Regions from separate parts of the Homo sapiens genome. Here all the other regions are linked to region 1. Evidence: promoter capture Hi-C in 16 types of primary human blood cells and fetal thymus (Javierre and others, 2016). All regions are on one chromosome and are shown on one strand. Each heading gives the region's core, a stretch centred on a gene start or on the middle of the fragment in contact. The rest is flanking DNA. Distances are from core to core; before and after follow the strand shown.

Evidence for each region. Contacts are between HindIII fragments. The CHiCAGO score rates a contact against its expected background, and 5 or more counts as called.
Region 2: a contact is called between a fragment that was not itself captured here and the fragment with the promoter of ANGPT1 in region 1, in 1 of 17 cell types (erythroblasts). The highest score is 5.0, in erythroblasts.
Region 3: a fragment that was not itself captured here is called in contact with the fragment with the promoter of ANGPT1 in region 1 in 1 of 17 cell types (erythroblasts); the score reaches 6.0 in erythroblasts.
Region 4: a contact is called between a fragment that was not itself captured here and the fragment with the promoter of ANGPT1 in region 1, in 2 of 17 cell types (erythroblasts and megakaryocytes). The highest score is 7.0, in erythroblasts.
Region 5: a contact is called between a fragment that was not itself captured here and the fragment with the promoter of ANGPT1 in region 1, in 2 of 17 cell types (megakaryocytes and erythroblasts). The highest score is 7.6, in megakaryocytes.
Region 6: a contact is called between a fragment that was not itself captured here and the fragment with the promoter of ANGPT1 in region 1, in 2 of 17 cell types (erythroblasts and megakaryocytes). The highest score is 7.6, in erythroblasts.
Region 7: a contact is called between a fragment that was not itself captured here and the fragment with the promoter of ANGPT1 in region 1, in 1 of 17 cell types (erythroblasts). The highest score is 5.4, in erythroblasts.

The regions. Positions count from the first base shown.
Region 1 is chr8:107,496,241-107,499,533 of GRCh38, reverse strand. It overlaps ANGPT1 (angiopoietin 1), which reads left to right and starts at 1,616. Exons shown (of 9, transcript NM_001146.5): 1 at 1,616-2,272. The coding sequence starts at 1,976. The HindIII fragment of the contact is 4,855 bases long and covers 1-3,293 here.
Region 2 is chr8:107,012,008-107,015,300 of GRCh38, reverse strand. No RefSeq gene overlaps it. Among named protein-coding and RNA genes, the nearest start is that of ABRA, 240 kb to the right of the region's middle. The HindIII fragment of the contact is 5,672 bases long and covers 1-3,293 here.
Region 3 is chr8:107,032,646-107,035,938 of GRCh38, reverse strand. No RefSeq gene overlaps it. Among named protein-coding and RNA genes, the nearest start is that of ABRA, 260 kb to the right of the region's middle. The HindIII fragment of the contact is 7,125 bases long and covers 1-3,293 here.
Region 4 is chr8:107,097,490-107,100,782 of GRCh38, reverse strand. No RefSeq gene overlaps it. Among named protein-coding and RNA genes, the nearest start is that of ABRA, 330 kb to the right of the region's middle. The HindIII fragment of the contact is 309 bases long and covers 1,513-1,821 here.
Region 5 is chr8:107,114,514-107,117,806 of GRCh38, reverse strand. No RefSeq gene overlaps it. Among named protein-coding and RNA genes, the nearest start is that of ABRA, 350 kb to the right of the region's middle. The HindIII fragment of the contact is 1,022 bases long and covers 1,109-2,130 here.
Region 6 is chr8:107,139,483-107,142,775 of GRCh38, reverse strand. No RefSeq gene overlaps it. Among named protein-coding and RNA genes, the nearest start is that of ANGPT1, 360 kb to the left of the region's middle. The HindIII fragment of the contact is 4,031 bases long and covers 1-3,293 here.
Region 7 is chr8:107,167,632-107,170,924 of GRCh38, reverse strand. No RefSeq gene overlaps it. Among named protein-coding and RNA genes, the nearest start is that of ANGPT1, 330 kb to the left of the region's middle. The HindIII fragment of the contact is 1,573 bases long and covers 867-2,439 here.

The sequences.
Region 1 (3,293 bases), core at 367-2,866:
GATATCCGTGATCTTAGGTTTGTTGGAATGATTAAGTGAGATAGTGTGTAAGGAGTGCTTCGCCTGGAAAACAGTAAGGTCTTAATGCATGCCATTATTATTGTTGCACAGGAGTGATACATGACTCAATGAGGAGACACGCAAAAGTTCAAGAGGCTGCAAAAGTGGTTCAAATATTTTATTGCTGTGTTTGGCATAACTTGCTTCCATATCTGTCCAATCAGAAATTTGTTATTTGGTGTGGAAAGGACTGATGAATCTCGGCAAGGTTTCTTTCCCCAAGTAAATCGCATTTGTTCTGGAATTTGTTTTGACCTCTCCTCTAACTTCTCCCTAAATGCCCATCTCTAACCACTACGGACCTTCACCCACTGCCCTGTTCTCCTTCCAAGACATGGGAGATGACAGCTGTGGCTTCTGTTTTCACACCATGACTGCAGTTGTCTAAAAGCCCTCCCAGTTCCTAATGAAAATCCCAACTCATAATTCAGGTTTTCTGCATCTAGTAAAGATCTCAAAGCCGTTCCCTAAATTCTACAATTATTGCCTGTTTATGTTTATGGGTCCCTTTGTTCAAATGTTTATACGCTGCCTGTGGGAAATCATCTTCTGATAATTTTTCTTTCTTCCTTCACAGAAGCACAGAGATGTCTCCTGTACAGCCCATTGCTGGCTGTTAGCACACCTGATATATGCTTGTTCTCACATAGTATGTCTGTGCAGCCACAGGAGGTTTTTATGTGGAACTTCCACACCAGTGTTAAAGACAGCCATAGCCACCAAAGAGATCCTTGTAAAATACAGGATTAGGATATACCACAGGAATTAATAATTCTCAAGCCACTGCTTTAAATTGTAGCCACATTGTTTTTGTAGGGAAGTTGCTCAATTTATATACACAGAACATGAAGGGTTGCATTCTGATCAGGACACCAGTTTCATTTAAGAACCCTATACCAAAAGGTACTTAGATAACCCTCTTTAATATGCACATACTATATTGCTTTGTGCAACATATTGCTTTGAGCAACAAATGATGCTAATTTTCTTGCTAATTTGATCCTCTCTGATTATTTTCTTCAACTCCTAAAAGTCTAAGTGAATACAATGAAAGAATACCATCTGTAAAAACTGTTTTTTAACATATTTTTCCTCAGAGTCAAGAATACATGTTTTTTAAAGACATTTAATAATGATATGGGTTTATCATTCTCTATCAAAAATAATTCCATTGGACATTATGCCAATTTTCTTCTTAGGGTCCCTCGACTAAATAGTAACTTTAAAAACATACTGCTAGTTTGCTATATTTTAGTAGGTCAGCATGCACACCAAAAGTGTATTAAGGTGGACTGCTCTATTTATTGATTTGCCATGAATCTGCTAAAGGCTCAAGGCAATTGTCTGTGGAAAGGGGCGGGAGGGCCATACATGATCGAGGTCATGCGCATCTAGCCAATTTGTAAGACGATCCCGCCGCCCTAAGCCATCAGCAATCCTTAGTATAGGGGCACACTCATGCATTCCTGTCAAGTCATCTTGTGAAAGGCTGCCTGCTTCCAGCTTGGCTTGGATGTGCAACCTTAATAAAACTCACTGAGGTCTGGGAGAAAATAGCAGATCTGCAGCAGATAGGGTAGAGGAAAGGGTCTAGAATATGTACACGCAGCTGACTCAGGCAGGCTCCATGCTGAACGGTCACACAGAGAGGAAACAATAAATCTCAGCTACTATGCAATAAATATCTCAAGTTTTAACGAAGAAAAACATCATTGCAGTGAAATAAAAAATTTTAAAATTTTAGAACAAAGCTAACAAATGGCTAGTTTTCTATGATTCTTCTTCAAACGCTTTCTTTGAGGGGGAAAGAGTCAAACAAACAAGCAGTTTTACCTGAAATAAAGAACTAGTTTTAGAGGTCAGAAGAAAGGAGCAAGTTTTGCGAGAGGCACGGAAGGAGTGTGCTGGCAGTACAATGACAGTTTTCCTTTCCTTTGCTTTCCTCGCTGCCATTCTGACTCACATAGGGTGCAGCAATCAGCGCCGAAGTCCAGAAAACAGTGGGAGAAGATATAACCGGATTCAACATGGGCAATGTGCCTACACTTTCATTCTTCCAGAACACGATGGCAACTGTCGTGAGAGTACGACAGACCAGTACAACACAAACGCTCTGCAGAGAGATGCTCCACACGTGGAACCGGATTTCTCTTCCCAGAAACTTCAACATCTGGAACATGTGATGGAAAATTATACTCAGTGGCTGCAAAAAGTAAGTGATTGCTTTCAGTTTCTAATAGCACGGACCTTTTTCCTTTCTTGCACTGCAGCTAACTTAAAGTTCCTTAGGGGAGCATTTGTGTATTTACCTTTTGCTCCAGGGGGGCAGTGTTTGCAATTGCAAGACGGCTGTCTGGGTTTGGCTTCCTGGGTAAGCCAAGGTTTGGGGGCTTGCCCAAACCTATGAATGTGTGGGGGCACCCCGTTTGTGTGTCTAGCCCTGGCAAATTTTATGACATTTTTGGTTTCTCTTTTCTAAAGTTCAGCATTAAGGTTCTCTCTGTCAAAACACTACCTTAAGAAAGAAAGTATGTACCTCTTAAGCAAGTTGGTGAAAAATAAATAATAATGACAATATTAATTAATAAGATCAAATCGATTTTGCACCAGAAAATTTTGTGCCGCTGGGGTGGCAAATCATCACAAAGTATTTGTTTTTTTAACCTTTATAAAAATTAACATGAAGTGAGAGTAAATATAAAATATGATATTTGGTTGGAGAAATTGTATATTTATGTAAAGGGAACTGTTAGTTTCAGCAAGTGGTAGAATAGTAGACTGATTTCTGTTAAATATTTTTTTCTTCTGTCCTTGAGAAAAAAAATTAAAAAGATACATTGTAATGTTAACTGTCGGAAAGGGGTTGCTCGCTCACGATGAGGGCATGCTGGCTGTTGAGGAAGACATGCACCTGCAGATATGGGCTGAACGCAGCATGTAGTCTACTATATTCCTGAAATACCTCCCTTCTCAGGGCATTGTAGTTAGAGACAGTACCTGGCGAGTTTAAGTATCCATGTTATTTGATGAATGTTAATGTTGAGTATGAATGTAATCTCAATTTATAGAAATCAAATCGAATAGTTTATCCAGTTATTTATCTACAAACCATTTAAGTTTTTGTTGAAGATAAGCCTATTAAATTATGAACACACTTCTGCAATTCATTCTGTCTTTGCACTCTGTTTAATAATAGGCAGCCGAGAATAAGTATATTCAACTGACTATGCTAC
Region 2 (3,293 bases), core at 532-3,031, 480 kb after region 1:
CATCCTGAATCCACTGGAGTTTGGAGCCACAGGAAATAATCTGGAGCCTGGGGCAAACCTGGTCCTAGGGCAGGTTTAGAGACTGGGACCATGAGGGTAAGCACATGGGATCTGTTCTGGAGGTTAGGTCCAAGAAGGCTGGCCTGGATACTGGATCCAGTTTGCAACCTGGATCCACAGCAGTGGTTCTAGAGCCTGGGTCCATTGGGGGCTAGCCCAGTGATGGGATCTACTGGGATAGACCTGGGTCGACTTGAGTGTGGGATTGCAGCAGCCAGCTTGGGAGCTCCCTAGGGCTCCAGGAACTGGCCTGGTCTTGGGAAGGCCTGGAGCCCATGTCCACAGGTGCTGACCTCATCCTGAGGGCTCCAGGAACTGACCTGGCCTTGGGAAGGCCTGGAGCCTGTGTCCACAAGTGCTGACCTCATTCCTGAGGCCAGGAGTATTGATGGAGACCTGATTCTGGGCTGTCTTAGAAACTGGAGTATGCTTGCATCCTGGGGCTGCAGGGGCAGGCCTGGCACTGAAAAGGCCTGGAGCCTGGGTCTTGAGGTAGGCCTGGTCCTGGAGTGGGCCAGAAACTCAGGACCCCTGGAGCTGGCTCAGTATTTTAGTCTGTCCAGAGCCTGGAGCCACTGGGGTTGGCTTGGCTCATGGGACAAGCCTGGAATCTGGGATTGTGTAATCTGGCCTGGCATCAAAGAGGGTCTGAAGTTTGTGGCCATGAAGATCTGCACTGTGCTGGTTTTTAATTGGGCAAGCCCAGTATTGGGATCTGAGGCAATGTCCAGTACTCACTTTACTATCCTTCCCCATGCAGAGGGTCTCTCTCTCCATTCTGTTCTATCTCTGGTTGGGAGAGGGGTGACATAGGTAATGTAAAACTGTTCTTCCTGCACTCTTAAATGCTATTTTCTTATTTTTCTGCTAAGCCCAGGTGCTGTAATCTCTCCTCTGGTTTCTTTATCTCTTATGAAGTATTTTTGTGCATGAATAGATCAAACTGATGCTTCTATGGGGGATTAGAGCTAGAAAGCCCTATTCTGCCATCTTATTAACATTCCCTCCTGATTATATTTTTTATACTTTGCTATATTTTTCACATTCTCTTTATGAAAAGGAAATATGGCTAAGGATATAATACAAAATTAAATTTTTTTTGTTATTAGAAAGGTTGATAGCCAGAATGATACAAAAGTGAAATCATTTTTATTTATTTATTTATTTATTTATTTATTTTTGAAACAGGGTCTGACTCTGTTGCCCAGGCTGGAGTATAGTGGCCCAATCTCAGCTCACTGCAACCTCCACCTCCCAAGCTCACACAATCCTCCCATCTCAGCCTCCCAAGTAGTTGCGACTACAGGTACTTGCCACCACACCCAGCTAATTTTGTTTTTTTTTGTGTGATTTTTTTTTTTTTTTTTTTTTTTGTATAGACAGGGTTTTGCCACACTGCCCAGGCTGGTCTTAAACTCCTAAACTCAAGCAATCTTCCTGCCTCGGCCTCTGAAAGTGCTGGGATTATAGGTATGAGCCACTGCACCTGGCCTGAAACCATTTTAAATGGGGCGAAAGAGTGCCTCCATACTCAATTCAAATAAATAAGACAGAATCAATTCTAGATTAGAAAAAAATAGTATTTAAAATTCAATAACTAACCAGAGAACAATATCTTTAGTAAAAATGTTTTCTTCCTAATAAGAGAAAGGACTAATAAGAGAAAGGAATCATTGTCTATATTCAGAATTGGGATTTCAGTCTTTTTTTTCCTAGTTATCTTGTGTTTCTTCTGATTGATGTCTACAACTCAGTGTTTGTGTTACTGAAGTCTGCGTCTTCTTCTCCATTGTTAAATCATATTTGAGACCATGTTATAACATGTTATATGAGAAACCAAGCACAGACAAATCTTGAGTCAGGCACCTGTATTCATATCTTGCCTTCAGCACTTTTTCTGAATGCTAGCCAGTTTCTTAATTTCTATGTCAGTTTCATCTTCAAGATGCAGATTATAACGTCAAAGAGTTTTAAGATGATTAAACGGATAGTTCTGTAAGCTGGTGATAATCTCTGCCACTCTACTCTGAAACTTCACCCTTCCCACCTCACTTTCATTGCTCAGGTTCAAATCCAGGCCCATCCTAGTCCCTATTTTTCTTTCACACCCCACATCCAACTTGTCAGCAAATTCTGCTCTCTCTGCCTTCAAAATAAATGCAGGCTCTGATCACTTCTCACCATCTCCACTGCCACCAACTGGGTAAAAACTGCCATCATCTCTTTCCTGGATTATTGCAGCAGCCTCCTATCTACCTTGCTATCTATGATAAATTCTGTGCAAATAATGATGTAAGCCAAGTCATGTTATGCCTCCACCAAAATCCTTCAATGGATGCCCATTCTTGCTCGGAGGAAAAAGTAAATTCTCAACCAAGGTCTAGGAAGGCCTACAAAATCGAATCTCTCACTCCCTCTGAGCTTAATTCCCTGAGCTAATTTTCCCTGTAATACTTTTCTTCAGTCACACAGGTCTCCTTACAGTTCATCTAAGACAAAAGACACATCTTGCTTCAGGACCTTTGTACTTGCTGTTCCCACTCATGCCATGCTTCTACTCTAGAGGGGCCCATAGTTTGCTCTCACTCCTTCACATCTTCACTCAAAAATAATAATCTCAACAAACCTTCCCTATTTAAAATTGCAAATCCTCCTTTTGAATGCTCCATCCCGTTTCCTGGTTCTATTTTTCTCTTAACATGTAGTATTCTGTAGCTTATTAATGCTATTTATGCCATTTAGAATACCACTTTATGAAGGTAAGAATTTGATGTAACCCTTGGGCCTAGAACAATGTCTGGCATCTAATATTTAAAAAGCATTTTTTAATGAATGAGTGAGCACATGCCCTCAGAACAGTATCTCGAAGATAGCAGGTACCATCTAAATTTTTAACTACTTTCATGTTTTATGATAATACCATGAAATCACTTAATTGAAAAGAACACTTTATCTAAATTTTTAGAAGATGATCATCTGACCTTTAAGCTCTTTCTCAACAGGGAACCATTAAAATCCCATAAATTTTATAAAATGAGCCAGAAGAATCTACTTATTTTAAGAAGGTAACATGTATGTTGATTTCTTGGAACTGAGTTTCTACTATACCACACACATTTATCCACATGCAACAAGAGATGTCAACTAACAAACTACCCCCTCTGTTTAGACAATAGGTAGTCCAAAGCAAACATGTGATTTAAAATGATATTAGTAAGAAAAGTTAAAGAAGT
Region 3 (3,293 bases), core at 246-2,745, 460 kb after region 1:
AGCCAAAAGTCACACAGAGGTCTGCCTGACTCCAGATCATGAGGTTTTACTCCCTCCCTATGATTTGCTTTGAGATAATAAACTTGGAAGACCCAAGATGCATTATTCTGTTGTCTGTGTCACAATGTAATTCAGCAAGGATAATTAACAATTTGATTGCATTAATGACAGAATTCTTTTACAAGACTAAACAGTATTCATTGTATATATATAATACATTTTTATATATCATTCATACATTAACGAACACTTGGGTTGATTCCATATCTTGGCTATTGTAAATAATGCTGCAGTGAACATGAGAGTGAATGCAGGTACCTGTTTAATATGCATCCCTTGAATATATACCTACTAGTGGAATCCTAGGATTCCTACTGGATCATAGGACAGTTCTATTTTTGATTTTTTGAGTACATACCTGTATTACTCCATTCTCACACTGCTAATAAAGACATATCTGAGACTGGGTATTTATAAACGAAAGAAGTTTAATTGACTCATAGTTGAGCATGGCTGGGGAGGCCTCAGGAAACTTAAAAACATGGTAGAAGGAGAAGCAAACACATCATTCTTCACATAATTGCAGAGAGAAGAAGAATGAGAATTGAGCTAAGGGGGAAATCCCTTATAAAACTATCAGATCTTGTTAGAACTTACTATCACGACAATAGCATGGGGGGAACCGCCCCCAAGATTCAGTTACCTCCCACCAGGTCACTCCCATGACATTATGGGAACTATAAGTCAAAATGAGATTTGGGTGGGGACACAGTTGAACCCCATGGACTGCATACAGGTTTTTGCAACTGCTGTACTAATTTACATTTCCACTACCAGTGTATAAGTGTTCTCTTTTCTCCACACCCTTGACAACACTTGTTATCTTTTGTCTTTTTGATAATATGTTAATATTATCAACATTAATATGCATTTCCCTAATAAGTGAGGTTAGCGTTCTTTTTCATATACATCTTGGCCATTTGCATGTCTTCTTCTGAGAAATGTCTATTCAGATTTTTTGCTACATTTTAATTGTGTTGGTATTTTACTATTGATTTGAGTTATTGATATATTTTAGATATTAATCCCTTATCAGATATATAACTTGCAAATATATTTTCTCATTGAAGTGAAGGTTGTCTCTTCACTCTGTATCCTTTGCAATGCAGAAGCTCTTTAGTGTGATATAATTCCATTTGTCTATTTTGCTTTTGTTGCTTGTGATTTTAAAGTTATATACAAAAAAAGTATTACCCAGCTCAAAGTCATGGAGCTTTTCCCTTATGTCTTCTTCTAGTAGTTTTATAATTTTAGGTCTTATATTTAAGTTTTACTCAATTTTGAGTTAAAATTTTTTTAATGTGATGTAAGAAGATGGTCTAGCAGCAGAAGTAGTAGTAGTGGTAGTAGTAGTATTGGTAGTCCTGCATGTGAATATCAAGTTTTCCCAGTATCATTTGAAGAGAATGTCCTTGCCATTGTGTGGTCTTGGCACCTTTGTCAAAAGTCAATTTGCCATAAATGCATTCATTTATTTCTGGGTTTTCTATTCTATCCCACTGGTGTATTGTCTGTCTTATGCCGTTATCATATTATTTTGATTATTATAGCTTCATAATGGATTTGAAATGAAGTAATAAGATGCTTCTGGCTTTGTTCTTGCTGAGGAATGATTTTGCACTGGGGTCTTTTGTGATTTCATACAAATATTAGGTTTGTCTTTTCTATTCCTATGAAAAACGTCATTGGAATTTTCATAGGGGTTGCATTAAATCTGTATATTGTTTTGGGTAGTATGACCAATTTAACAACATTAATAATTTCAATCCCTTTACATGGGATATCTTTCCATTTATTTGTGTCATTCTTAAATTTTTTATCAATGTTTTATAGTTTTCAATATGTCTTTCACCTGTTGGTTATATATATTCCTAAGTATTTTGTAGCTATTATAAATGGGATTGTTTTCTGAAATTCTTTTTCTAGTAGTTCATTACTAGTGTATAGAAATGCTAGTGAGTTTTGTATGTTGGTCTTATATCCTGCAACTTTATTGAATTTATTAGTTTTAACATTTTTTATGGAGTCTGAAGAGTTTTCTATATACAAGATTGTTAAGTGTAAACAGAGACAATTTAAGTGCTTCCTTTCCTATTTGGATGCCTTTTATTCTGTTCTCTGACCTAATTGCTCTGGCTAGGACTTCCAGTACTATGACGAATGGAAGTGGCAAGAATGAGCATCCTTGCCTTGTTCCTGATCTTGGAGCTTTCAACTTTTCACTGTTGAATATGATGCTAGCTATGGGGCTTGTTGTAAATGGTTTGAATTGTGCCAACGTACATTTCTTCTATACCTAATTAGTTAAGAGTTTTATTATAAAATGATGCAAAATTTTTTAAATGCCTTTCATGCATCTATTAAGATGATAGTATGGCTTTATCCTTCATTCTGTTAATGTAATATATCGTATTTATTTATTTACATATACTGAACCATCTTTGCATCCCAGCAATAAATCCCACTTGATCATTCTGAATAGTTCTTTTAATATGCTAATGAATTTGGTTTGCTAACACTCTGCTGAAGATTTTTACATCCATGTTCATCAGTGATATTGGACTGTAATTTTCTTCTCTTGCAGTGTCCTTGTTTGGCCTTGGTATCAGGGTAGTACCAGCCTCATAAGTTTGGAAGTTTCCTGCCTCTTCAATGTTTTGGAAGAGTTTGAAACAGTTTGGTATTAGTTTTTCTTTTTTCTTTTTTTTTTTTTTTTTTTTTTTTGAGACGGAGTCTCACTCTGTCGCCCAGGCTGGAGTGCAGTGGCGCTATCTCGGCTCACTGCAAACTCCGCCTTCCGGGTTCACGCTATTCTCCTGCCTCAGCCTCCCAAGTAGCTGGGACTACAGGCGCCTGCCACCACGCCCGGCTATTTTTTTGTATTTTTAGTAGAGACGGGGTTTCAACGTGTTATCCAGGATGGTCTCAATCTCCTGACCTCGTGATCCACCCGCCTCAGCCTCCCAAAGTGCTGGGATTAATTTTTCTTTAAATATTTGGTGGAATATAACAAAGAAGCCATCAGTTCCTGGGCATTCTTTGATGGAAGACTGTTAATTACTGATTCAATCTCCTGACTTACTCTGTTTAGATTTTATATTTTTTTTATGATTCAGTCTTGGTAAGTTGTATATGTCTAGGAATTTATCCATTTCATCTAAGTTACATAATTTGTTGCTGTATGATTTTTCATAGTAGTCTCTTATGATCCTTTGCATTCATCTGGTATCAGT
Region 4 (3,293 bases), core at 418-2,917, 400 kb after region 1:
TGGACTTCCTGGGCTTAATTTGTCAGATAAATATTATTTATTTTTTACTTTTCTGAGATAGGGTCTTGCTCATTCACCCAGGCTGCAGTGTGGTGGTGTGATCATAGCTTACTGCAGCCTCAGACTCCTGCGCTAAAGCTATCCTCCCACCTTAGCCTCCTGAGTAGCTGGGACCTCAGGCACACACTACCATACCTGAAAAATTGTTTAAATTTTTATTATAGATGGGGTCTCCCTATGTTGCTTAGGCTGGTCTTTTTTTTTTTTTTTTTTTTGAGGCAGAGTCTTGCTCTGTCGCCCAGGCTGGAGTGCAGGGGCAAGATCTTGGCTCACTGCACTGCAAGCTCCGCCTGCCAGATTCATGCCATTCTCCTGCCTCAGCCTCCCGAGTAGCTGGGACTACAGGCACGTGCCACCGTGCCTGGCTAATTCTTTGTATTTTTTAGTAGAGACGGGGTTTCAATGTGTTAGCCAGGATGGTCTTGATCTCCCGACCTTGTGATCCACCCGCCTCAGCCTCCCAAAGTGCTGGAATTACAGACGTGAGCCACCCCACCCGACCTCCAGGCTGGTCTTAAACTCCTGGGCTCACGTAATCCTGCTTCAGCCTCCCAAAGTGCTGGAATTAATAGGCATGAGCCACCACACCCAGCATTTGATTCTTTTATCAATATCTGTATCTATCCTCTTGGTACATCAGGCTCCCTAGGCTAACAGCACCAAAGTTTCTGAGGTTTCAACTAAACTCCAGATATTCCAAGTTCCATTTCTCCATCCTTTATGTTTCATTTATGAATTCCTTCAAAAGGGGACCCCCACAAGTCACCATAGTGTTTGTAGGAGAAAAATGGGGAAACCCCAGCAGAAATAGAAAAGAGCACTTTAAGAAGACCCAAGTACCAACAGATTTACAAAAAGTTGGCCCCAGATATGGTAATGCATGCTCATGAAAGATCATTAAGTCCACATTCACAATTCAAGCATCCAATAATCCAGGTTTGGAGAAGGTCTGACAAATCCAGAAAATCTTCTGTGATGTGATGTGCCAGTCTTTTGGGATCAAGCAGGTCTGGGTTGAATTACTTCAGTCTAGTTTGCCCTGTGCCAGTCTTTTGGGATCAAGCAGGTCTGGGTTGAATTACTTCAGTCTAGTTTGCCCTGTGCCAGTCTTTTGGGATCAAGCAGGTCTGGGTTGAATTACTTCAGTCTAGTTTGCCCTTTCACATAGAAACCATTTAATGAGAAATGTATCTAATTACTAAATCTAAAATACAATGCTTTTCCATGTGTCTCTACATATTCTTGGATGTCTTAATTCTTTTTGTCATTTTCACAGGCTTTTCAGGATTTTGTAAACCAATTTGTTTAAGTTTATTTCCAACTTTTTTTAAAACTATTTATAATATTTACAGCATCTTAAAAGAAAAAGTGTTGTTTTGTTCCCTTGTAGGAATTCTTTCTTCTCTGCCTTTGGGAACTTAATATTGCCCTACCCATATTAAGAAGGAAGCTTTGTACACATTTTAATAGTTTTATTTTATTTTACTATTTTTGACTGCTTTAATGAATCCTTAAACACAAGGGACTCCAATTTTAAGCTAGCTAATCATTAAAACATTAAGTCAACAAACTGATATTACGTGAAGAAATGAGTTTGTTTGTTTAATTGGTTAGTTTTATTGTTTTTCCCCTTTCTTCCTCCATCTTTTCCTCTTTTTTCTTTTCTTATTTTTCTTCTTTTCTTTTTTTATACCTGGGATCCAAAATCAGTAGGCAGATTTCTGCTTTGAAACCTATGATAGTAAATGGAAAGCAGAAGCTTTTCCACTCACAGAAACTCCTATTGAGGCTCAGAAACTGATACCCTGAAATATCAAACACCCTGAAATACAGTGCTTTAACATGCTCAACTAAAGAAGCAAACTCAAGGTCTCTCTGACCTCCTGCCTACCCACCCTTGTCTCAATCCTCCATCTCTCCCAAAACACAGGATGAGGCTCTTCTCTGATGTCCCCTTATTTACCTAGAAACACAAACAAAATTATTTTTGATCTCTTCCCTGAAATGTCATTAATCAGAGAAGATTAAAATTCCTCTTACAAAGGAAGAGACTGAAAATTAAATATCACACCTAGAATGTAGATGAACTTTGTCCCAAACTACTGTCTGTTCTTAGACCCCATTCAATTCCCAAAGAGAATCATTTACAAACCATTTTATAGTCTTCAGGCCCATGGTTTTACAGCAACCTCCTCCGTGCACCCCATACACGCTTGCTTCTCCTCCAGTGAAAAGGGTATTTAAGCATCAACCATCTGGCCCTTTCTTTCAGTTTTCAATATTTTGCATGACTCCTGTGCACATAATACATTTGTTATGCTTTTCTCATTAACCTGTGTTTTGTTTTATAGGAGTATTGGCTGTGACTCTTTATGATTGGGAGGAAAGAGATTTCTCCCTTTCTGCCTCTAAATCCCCAACTTGCTGAAACTTCCCTACAATAGATTAGCTGAAGTTGGAATCACATAGGCAGGACTGATGCTCTTATGTCACTGTGTATCTATATACACACAATGGTATATCTATTCCAGTTGTCTATAACTGGTATCTTTTAAAATTGAGCCAGCATCAGGTATGATTGGTTGATACTTATGCTATATTAAACTTCACTATACTTCTGCACTGAGAATAGATTATTATTAATATCTTGGCTTTCATGGCCACTAATTTGCCCATAACACCGTACATTAGGGGTCCCCAACCCTCAGGCTATGGACCTGTACCATTCTGTGGCCTGTTAGGAACTGAGCCACACAGCAGAAGATGAGTGGTAGGGAGCAAGCATTACCACCTGTGCTCTGCATCCTGTCAGATCAGCGGAGGTATTAGATTCTCATAGGAGTGCGAACCTCATTATGATCTGTGCATGCAAGGGTTCTAGGCTGCGCGCTCCTTATGAGAATCTAATACCTGGTGATCTGAGGTGGAACATTTTCATCCCAAAACCATTCCCCCACTCCCAGCCCCTACCCCCACCCCACCCCCCAAGTCCATGAAGAAACCGTCTTCCACAAAACCAGTCCCTGGTGCCAAAACTGTTAGGGGCTGCTGCTATACATCATTATAACGCTGAATGTGAGCTGGAAAAATTGCCAGGCCAAACAGGGATATTATAACACACAATCCAATGCACCAACAGGTAATACAATTGTAACTGAGTACCCTATTTTTTCCCTCAACAAGTACAATTTTATTTATTTATTTTTAACTTTTATTGTAAGTTCAGGGTACAA
Region 5 (3,293 bases), core at 370-2,869, 380 kb after region 1:
CTTGGCGATGTTGAAGCAGAGCAGCTACACATTATTGGGGTGCTTGCTAAAACAATCAGCATGGCCTCAAGAGAAACATGGATAATTTTTAAAAATGGTACCAGTTCGAGGATGTAAATTCCAGTCATTGAACAAACAAGGGTACAAGGATGATTAGCACAAAGTTGACAAGGAGGAATACCTTAGTCACTCCTGAATGCACGAGAAAAACCAAACACTGCTTAAACTGGAGGAAAAAATATTTTAGACCATTCAGGTTGTAGTGTTATTGCTAGAAATTTGTTGCAGCCAGAAATTATTATTTTGTTTGTGGTCTGCAATGCACAACAGGCTGTAGTGGCCTCAAGAAATGTAGAATAAATATGCAAACATAATTAAGTTAGAAAATTATTAAATTAAATTTAATTTTTTCCCCACTGAGTTATATAATGATTCCAGGTTTTCTCAGTCACTAGGTCCTTCATGTTTTAAAACAAACTGCATAAGACAACCTGTATTTGAAAAAGTAAAAATCTATGTAGGTCACTTTGAATTCTGATATTCTTGTACAGAGCTAAAATTAGCAATGTATTGCATTGCTTCTTAAGTGTGTTCTGAAATTATTAACACATTCTCCAAGAGGCTAAACTTCTTCCAGGAAGGCTCTTATCTCAGAAGAGTAAAGCTTTTCTGTTTTTTTCTAAAACAGCTATAAAATAAGACTAGTATTTCCTGCCTTCCTCAAGACATGGTAGTATAGTTGATTGCTGAGATGTTTAAAAAGATCTATATGGTTCTATAGAATAAAGGACAAATAAAGCATTATTATATTTGAACATATTTTCCCCTAATGAACTCTTCAGATTTTGGGGGGTTGGTATCATTCCAACAATTATAAATTAGGAAGAAATGTGTGTTTTCTCCCAAAGGGCAGTTGAACTTTGTTCAGAATGCTTAAGAAAACATCCGGTGGGATGTTTGCTGATGGAGCTATGTCAACTCATCTTCAAGATTCCCCTCTAGAACAGTACAACAGTTATGAGTGCAAATGCCATGAATATTTTATTATCACTGAGATCTCATCTCCTAGTGGTCACAGAGCTGCTCTAAACAGCTACTGCTGGAAGCTTGGACATGTTGTTTATTCAAGAACAAACTGAAGGTTAAATGATAACATAAAATTTTAAGAGTTAGCATTAGTCACAGGAACAAAACACTAGAGACATTTTTAGCCAATAAGAAGTGTGTGCGTGTGTGTGTGTGTGTGTAATTCTTCTCCATTGAGAAGCATTTAAACATTAAACAGTTAACAAATAAAAATGTCTAAGAAGATCTTTACAAGACCTGAGCCATAGAATATTACAGTATTCACTGGATGAGGTGGTTTGACCCTGAGACTCTGTCTCCTGTTCCTCATGTGTTGTCCCCCTCCAGGGCTGCAGCAAGCAGGCATCTTTCTGATTGAGAGATTCAGAAACAGGAACAAAGGTCATGAATGTGTGACTCTACAGAGAGAGGAATTTAAAAGGAGATTACTCAGATAGTTCTTCTGTTCTTTTGATCTCTTAATCAAATTATATTTAAAAAGTCATAATTTCAGGCATTCTAGAAACAGTCTTGATTTTTTTTTCTTGACAACTCCTTTTAGAATATATGGTTGATAGCTCATTATAAGCAAATCTCCAAATGGAGGCTAACTAAAGTCTTAAAGTATAACAATCACCAAGTGTAAATCTGAAAAATTTAATGTAAATCAGAAAATTGGAATGATTCATTTATTCATATATAATTACTGATTACCTGCTATGTGCTCAGCACTGGGCTGTGTACTGGGGGATGTAGCCATCCCACACATGGAACTCACAATATAGTGGGATGAGTTGTTTTTACAGCCACATATATCATCACACAAATGTGATGATAATTAATAACTACACACGCTATGCCAGAGTGCTATAATAAAGAGCATGTAGCTGGGGGACCTTGAACACACCATACTCATACGCACGCACACACACACACACACACACATATATGTCTTAGTGGCTGGAAATGTTTTTCTTGTTTTGTTCCTGTGCCTAACCCTAACTCCTTACAATTTTATGTTATCCTTTAACCTTCGCTTTGTTCTTGAATAAACATGTCCAAGCTTCCAACAGAAGCTGGTTAGAATGGCTCTATGGCCAGTAGGAGATGAGATCTCAGTGATTAATAAAAAAAAAATTCACGGCATTTGGACTCATAACTGTTGTACTGTTGTAGAGGGGGAATCTTGAAGTTGAGCTGACATAGCTCCATCAGCATGGAGGGATTTCTGGCCATTAGAAATGCAGAATGGCTTCATAATATTTCATGGTGCATACATACCACATTTTCTTTATCCAATCCATGGTTGATGGATACTTAGTTTGATTCCATGACTGGAAATCAGAGAAGAATTCCAAAGGAAGCAATGGTTGATCCAAAGATAAATAGAAGTTAGCTTGGCAAGGGATTGAAGATGAAGGATGTATGAAGACAGTTCCAGGCATTTAAATATTTTTCAAAATTCAAAACCAAGACAGACTTTATGTTTCAGGAGAGTTTTAAAAATGTATTCACTAGAGTCACTCATCCTCACAAACCAAAGTGAATATACTCTAGGCTGAGAGAGACTGATGGCAGAATCACTAAGCAGTGACTCCATCTCTGGTCTAACCACACCTTTAGGCGAGGTAAGCCACCTGTTACATGGAATGATATGTGAAACTTTGTAAGACCAGGTGAGCTCAAATATCACGACACATTGTTATCTTTCCATTCCACACTTTTATTTTTTACTTTGTTTTATATTCAAGAAATACTCTATGCAGGTTTGTTACATGGGTGTATTGTGTAATGGTGGGGATTGAACTTCTAGTGTATCCATCACCCAAATATTGAACATTATACCCAAATGGCAATTTTTCACCTCTTCATCTTCCTCCTTTTAGAATTCCCATTATCTATTATTTACATTTTTATGTCCATGTGTACTCTTTGTTTAGCTCTAACTTATAAGTGAGAACATGCAGCATTTGATTTTCTGTTTCTGCATTAGTCACTTAGGATAATGTCCTCCAGCTCCATTTATGTTACTGCAAAGAACAAAGGACATGATTTCATTCTTTTCATTATATAAAAGACAACTGAACTTGTATGTTTATTGCAGCACTATTCACAACAGCAAAGTGATGAAACCAACCTAAGTGTCCATCACTGATTGACTGGATAAAGAAGATGTGGTATATATGCACCATGGAATACTATGCAACCATCCTGCATTTCTAATGGCT
Region 6 (3,293 bases), core at 391-2,890, 360 kb after region 1:
ATAGAATCTCAGCACATCAAAGTGAATTTAGAAAATGGAAGGCACACACACATGTATATACACATTTTAAAAATGAGAAAACTGAAGCCCAGATAGGTGAAATGCTTAGCTAATGTCACATAGCAAATTAATAAATTATGACCAGAAGTCAAGTCTCTGGACTTACAAATTAGTCTTCTTCTTCCTATATTAATCTGGATACTTCTTGGTCACCAATCACCACTCATAATCCATTTCTCTGTCTACAAAATGCAGATTGTTTCTGTGTCTAGAGTGCTGCTCTTCAACAAGAATAGCTGTGTCCCTCAGTGCACCCTAATGATAACTATGCTGATTATACCCCACTTCAGCAAAAGCAGCTGCTGCATGAAACTGTGAACTTTAATCGCTGTTAGCTTAGAGGCAGCAAAATACAACTGAAAGGGGTATAAATTATAGACTGTACTCATTATCTTTGTAACCCATGTTTCATTAAGTTCCTTGTTATTAGTGCATGTATTAAGCACCTGAGTATCCTATTTGTGACTATTTTGAAAAATATTTATAAGTGGACAGCAGAAAATGTATAATAGTGAAGAGTTTGGACATTGTGAGACTTACTGTGAATGAGCTTGGGCCTTTGAGGAATCATGGATATTTTTGAATACATTTCTAAAGAAAATAAAGTCACTCATTCCTGGAAAAAAAAATCAAACACTTATAAAGAGAGCCTGATGCAAAATTATTTCATCTACTCTTTGATAGTTCTCTAGGTAGCCCTAAATATTATGTATTTGAAAAAAATAAGGAATAATTAATTATTACTGCCTAATGTAAAGCATTTCCAATATTATATCATGATGTACTGAGCTTCATGATTATTTGTTTATATTACACATATACTCCTTATTGACATACCCATATATTTTTCCTCATGTCATATTTACTTCACATTTGTTGGTTTGGGATTCTCAAAATGTCCGCTAATTTTTTCAAGTCCCCCTTTCTCCACTCTAGTCCATGTGGTTTTAGGGAGTTGGCTCTACCCTTAGATCCAAGGGATGGCACGTCACCAAGATATGGCCAACTAGAGCCCCCAGGTCTCCTGTCCCTGCTCAGGAATAAGCCTGTATCCCAGTAAAAGACAATGAGACACAGTTTTATGACATTTGTTTAAATCATTGGGTAGAATTCTAAAAAGATAGATTGTAAGTTAAAACTCTTGGCAACCACCAGGGAAAAAAAAAAGCCTTTCTGAGACTTGAGCCAACACAGAAGCCAAACTGAAAGATGGATAGAAGTTCAGCTGATATTATTTGAGCCCCTGGATCTAGATCTAGCCATGCATGATTTTTTTTTAATTTAGGAAAGTATTATTTTTATCTGTCACTTGCAGTTGGAAGATTCTTGACCAATTTGATGTAATAACTTCTTTCACAAACCTATCTTCGTATAATCACACTTCGCTATATCTTGCCTACTTTTAGAAAGGTGGAGCTCATTTAAAAGTGTAACTGCAAACATTGCAAGATCCTTAAGTAAAGGATGGCATGTTTTCTGAAAGGAAGGGAAAAGACCAATAATTAGTAATAATTGTTTGATGCTGGAATTTGATTTTTTTGAAAGTAAAATATAATAATCAAGATGGGAGATAATCACACTTTAAATGATAAAGGTGGAGAGGAAGAAATGCACAATGGAAATATTGAAGAGGAAAAATTCAGCACTTGTTAATATTTACCCTCAGGCTTTGTGCTTTGGGTAATAGTAGCATGATTCAGTGCATTTGGCAACTGGGGAGGGGCAGAAATTATGCAAGGGAAGTTTGCTATTTTATCTCTGCTGAGTTTTCTTTGATTTGGCACCAAAACAGCTTGTTTGAAAGCTCTGAGGCTTGGATCATAGATAGATAAATCCATTTGCTTGTCTTGTGTGTAGAGAAGCTGGTTTAATGAGAGTAGGAGGAATTAGTTACATGTTATCCTGCAGAGATTCAAGCACAAGGTCTAGGCTGGGATGCCAGAAGTTCACAGTTGTTGTGAAGAAAACTGTGTAGAACCTGCCATGGGGAATCCCAAAGGTAGGGGAGGTAAACTGGTAAAGATGCAAATGTTCTATTTGACCATTTGATGGGGCCAAGGAAGACTAGCTAAAAGCAATGTCTATCCCATGGCCTGTATATTTAAGAGAAAACCCACATTTTAACACAAATTAAGGGAAAGAAAATTGGAATTCTTGAGTTCTACTTTAATGTGAATTTAGCCAGATACCAATAGACATTTTTCATTATCCCCTTCTAGTTTGTCTGTTTTTAAAAATAATGTGGCAGATTAAAACACTCAGATAATGTGTTCAATGTAAAATGTGACACCAAGCAAAACATTGTGGTTGCTCTCTTTTTATAAGGCACCATGTTTCCAAACTACTAGATTTATGGTAATTTACCTAGTGGGAAAATACCCTTCCAAAATTGTAGTATAAATGTTAGTTTAATAATATCTGATTATTTACAGTATATGGCATTGGGAAGGCTTAAATCATGTTAAAAAATATCTTTATACTTAAGCATCACCTTAGCAGAATTTAAATAACTGAATATATATAAATGTTAATAATCTCACTTTCTATAGAGAAAGTGTATCAATCATTTGGAACAAAGAATAAACATACCATACTACTTTATTTTCAAGGAATTATTCAGAAATAGACCACTATTCATTTATATGCATGGCTTGCTTGAGTTAATATATCTCGATAAATTTTTAAAAGCATTTATATCATCAATAGAATAATATGCATAGGATTTTGTATGATTCAGGAAAAAATTGTGAAAGTTATATTAATACATAATTCTAATAGGATTTCTAAGCATGCTTCCTATACTTTACAGAGTCATGTGATTATTAGCTATTTACTCATCCCTTTTCTTACAAAAACTAACAGATGGATATTTAGGGATAAACAAATTTGGACTTTTATAAGAATACAAGCATTTCTCATTTTGTTGAACTTTGCTTTATTGTGCTTCACAAATAACTGATTTTCTATAAATTGAAGATTTGTGGCAACCCCACATCAAGCATATGTACTGGTGCCATTTTTCCAAGAGCATATGCTCATTTTGTGTCTCTGTGTCACATTTTGGTGATTCTCATAATACTTCACTTTTATTATTATGGTGTCAGTTATAGTGATCTGTGATCAGTGATAAAATGGCAGATTTAATTGCTGAATGTGTGTGGTCTGGCTACTCCACCAATCGACTCTTCCCCATGTCCCGCCTGTCCTTGGGCCTCACTTTTCCCTGAGACACA
Region 7 (3,293 bases), core at 404-2,903, 330 kb after region 1:
ATTCAGGGACTATAAAACAAGAATTCGTATAAAAATGTATATAAGGAAGACACATTTCCCTTTTTAAAAGTTCATTCATCCATGACAAAGCTATTAAAAGTAGTTCAAGTTAACAATAAAGAACAAAAGATAATTGTGTGGATCTATGTGGTGGGAAGACCCAGACATGGCAGTCAAGTTAGAATGATGGAGACCCAGACACCAGACAGACCACAAGGATGTCCTCTGGGGACTTATTTGAGTATGAATAAAGAGTAGGAGTTCTACACAGATGTGCCAAAGACTCATGGTAAACAGCTGGCAGACATTCCAGTCAGTGAAGAAAGTGTGGTGCTGGAGAGTGCTGGGGTTAGAAGAGGAGAGGTGTGGCAGGACATGGGAATGGTGCTGGAAAAGAATGGGCAGCCAGCAACACAGAGAAGTTAAGGAAGATACCTGGGAAGTCGGGACCTGGGAGGTGCAGCTGTAGCATATACTAAGGGAGGAGACCACCCCTCATGCCCAGTTTCTGCCTCTAAAGAAAGAAGTAAAAACTAAAAGGCAGAAATGAAATCCACAGGCAGATAGCCCAGTGTGCACCCTGGGCCTGGTAGTTAAAAATCAACCCCTGACCTAACTGCTTGTGTTGTCTGTAGATTCCAGACATTGTATGGAAAAGCATTGTGAAAATCCCTGTCCTGTTCTGTTCTGTTCTAATTACCAGTGCATGCAGCTCTCAGTCACGTACCCCCTGCTTTCTCAATCGATCACGACCCTCTCATGCGGACCCCCTTAGAGTTGTAAGCCCTTAAAAGGGACAGGAATTGCTCACTCGGGGAGCTTAGCTTTTGAAACAAGTCTGCCGAAGCTCCTGGCCGAATAAAGCTTCTTCCTTCTTTAACCCGTTTGACGAGTTTTGTCTGCAATTCGTCCTACTACAGTACCAGGGGAGGTATGTTCAGGAATAAATCTCTGACACATCTGTGGGTCCTGGTCTCAAGAAACTGAGACATTGGAGGGGCTCACAAAGCAAGGATTGCAGCACAAGTGACCCTCCTTCTGATCTGAAAAGGATTCTCAAAAATGAGAAGGGAGAACTCCCCCTTGGCAGCACATATCAGAAACTGATCAGAGTAAAGGCAGTCCATATGCAAAGTATGTAACTCTACCTCCATCCAGCCTCCACTCTACCATAACATGCACTCTTACTGATAGAAAAGCATCTTGTTGTGAAGGTATGTTGGGGCAAATAAAAAATGATGGAATGCTGAAAATCATTGAAATAGGAACTTCGTCATAAAAGAACCAACTTAAGGAGCCTAGTTCATGACTGCAATGTCAGGAATGGATTTGAATTTAGGTCAATCATGATGCTGAGCTGTGAGCACCAGGCAGCTGGGTGTTACAGGAGTATCATGCACCTTAGAGTGAGAGTGGCCAGGGTTCAATTCCCAAGCCATTGCATACCATAAGGCATGTTTTTACATCCACTGACTCTCATTTTTCTACTACTTTAGATCCTCATGACCATATTATTTTTTTAATGTACACAGCACGTTTGCTATACTTTAGCTCTTCAGTGACTTATTCCTTCCACTACCTCCTTCAAAATCTGTCCCTTCCCATCCAGCTGGAAAATGGAGGGAAATGTCTTTACAATCTAATTTTCTAGGGCTGGGGCTCAGACAGAGGATGCCAGAGAAGGCACAATAGAAAGTGAAGAAGAATAAATTGGAAGTTGAGTAGGGAAGTAAGGATCATTAATAAGAGCTCTTGGTGGGGCAGAGGAGGAAGGCTGAGGATGACTTGGGGCCATCCAGTGTAAAACCCAAGAAGCAGGTGCTGTGTGCATGGCCAGAGGTGTTTGTGTTCAGCATTCCCTTTGTGTGTGTTCTCAGGTTCCTGGCCCCCGCTTGCCATCTGTGACAATCATCTCTTTATCCCTCTCTTCTTTAGCTCTCTGAAAAATGAACTGTAGTTTCAAAAAAAAAAAAACCCACAAATATATAATTACAAATCAAGTTAAGTGCTAAGTAAGAAAAATACAGAATGAAATGAGAAAGTATATTAGGGGCCTAATTTAAGTATGGGGGGTTGGATTTGAGAATTGGTGAAATAGAATAAGTAGAAGCTAAACATGTACAAACTAGGAAAAAGGGGGTTTCTAGGCAGAGAGAGGTACAAAAGTTCTATTTTAGCATCACTTGTGTTAATAACTCTAAAAAGCAGTCATCAGTACCCAGAAACCAGCTGGGTTTCAGAATCAAATGATCTATGAATGCTGTGATGCTTACAAATGGAAAAAACAACAATACTTAAATTCCTAAATAACGAGACTAAATCAGCAATATAAAATAAGAAATTAAATCAGTAGTAATTACATGGTTCTAGCCATTTCCATTTTGACCCAAAATGGGAATTTTCCCAGGTCCTAACAGAGGGAAAGGGGAAATAAAAGCTTAGAAATCTTGAAATGTTCCAGGTTGTCTTCCTCACCATTCTGTAAGCTGCCACTGATGCTTAAGAAACTTAGACTCTCTCACATGCTTCCAGAAAAGTTCCAGAAATCTCCTACAGACTATCTCCCATGTGCTTCATGGACTAGGACTCTTGACCTCTTCCATTTTTCCTCCTCTTTCATCGATTCTCTGTCTAAGCAACCTAAAGAAGCAACTCTCCTGCATTCTCATCTCCATTCCTGCTGGGGCTGGCCAGGAACTGACAGGCACCAAAGGGAGGTATTGCCAATCTGCCATAGCTGTCTTGAGACAATTGATTACTTACATCAAGGGCTCTACTGACTGCACCTAGAGTAGCTTCTGTCATTTCTAGAAACTTCTGGCACTATTTCTCATCATTGCTAGAAACTCCTGAAAGTTTATGGTCTCACTGTTTCACGAAGGTTACACTGAAAATTAGACTAGGTTTCACTTATTTCTTTAGTGCTGAATGAGGATTTAGTCCTGAGTCCTTTGGACCTCTGGCAGAAAGACAAGCCCAAATGATCAGCATAATAAATATAAACAAGATGATGCCTTACATATTATTATATGTTTTTCCTTTTGCTTTTCTGAATACAAAATTCACTTACCCGAAGCATCCATTAGCCTCAGGGGACATTTGGATATTATAAAGAGAAAAGCAAAGTAATACTCAACCTCTAAGATCAAAACAGGCTATTGTTAAGAGCAGAGAATTTTCAGATTCCATGGAGGTTTTATCCCCCTTTTAGATTATAACGAGTAAGCCTAGGAACACACTGTGGTGTGGAGAACATGTTCCATCTGGGTTAATTGAATATAAAGAGAAGATGT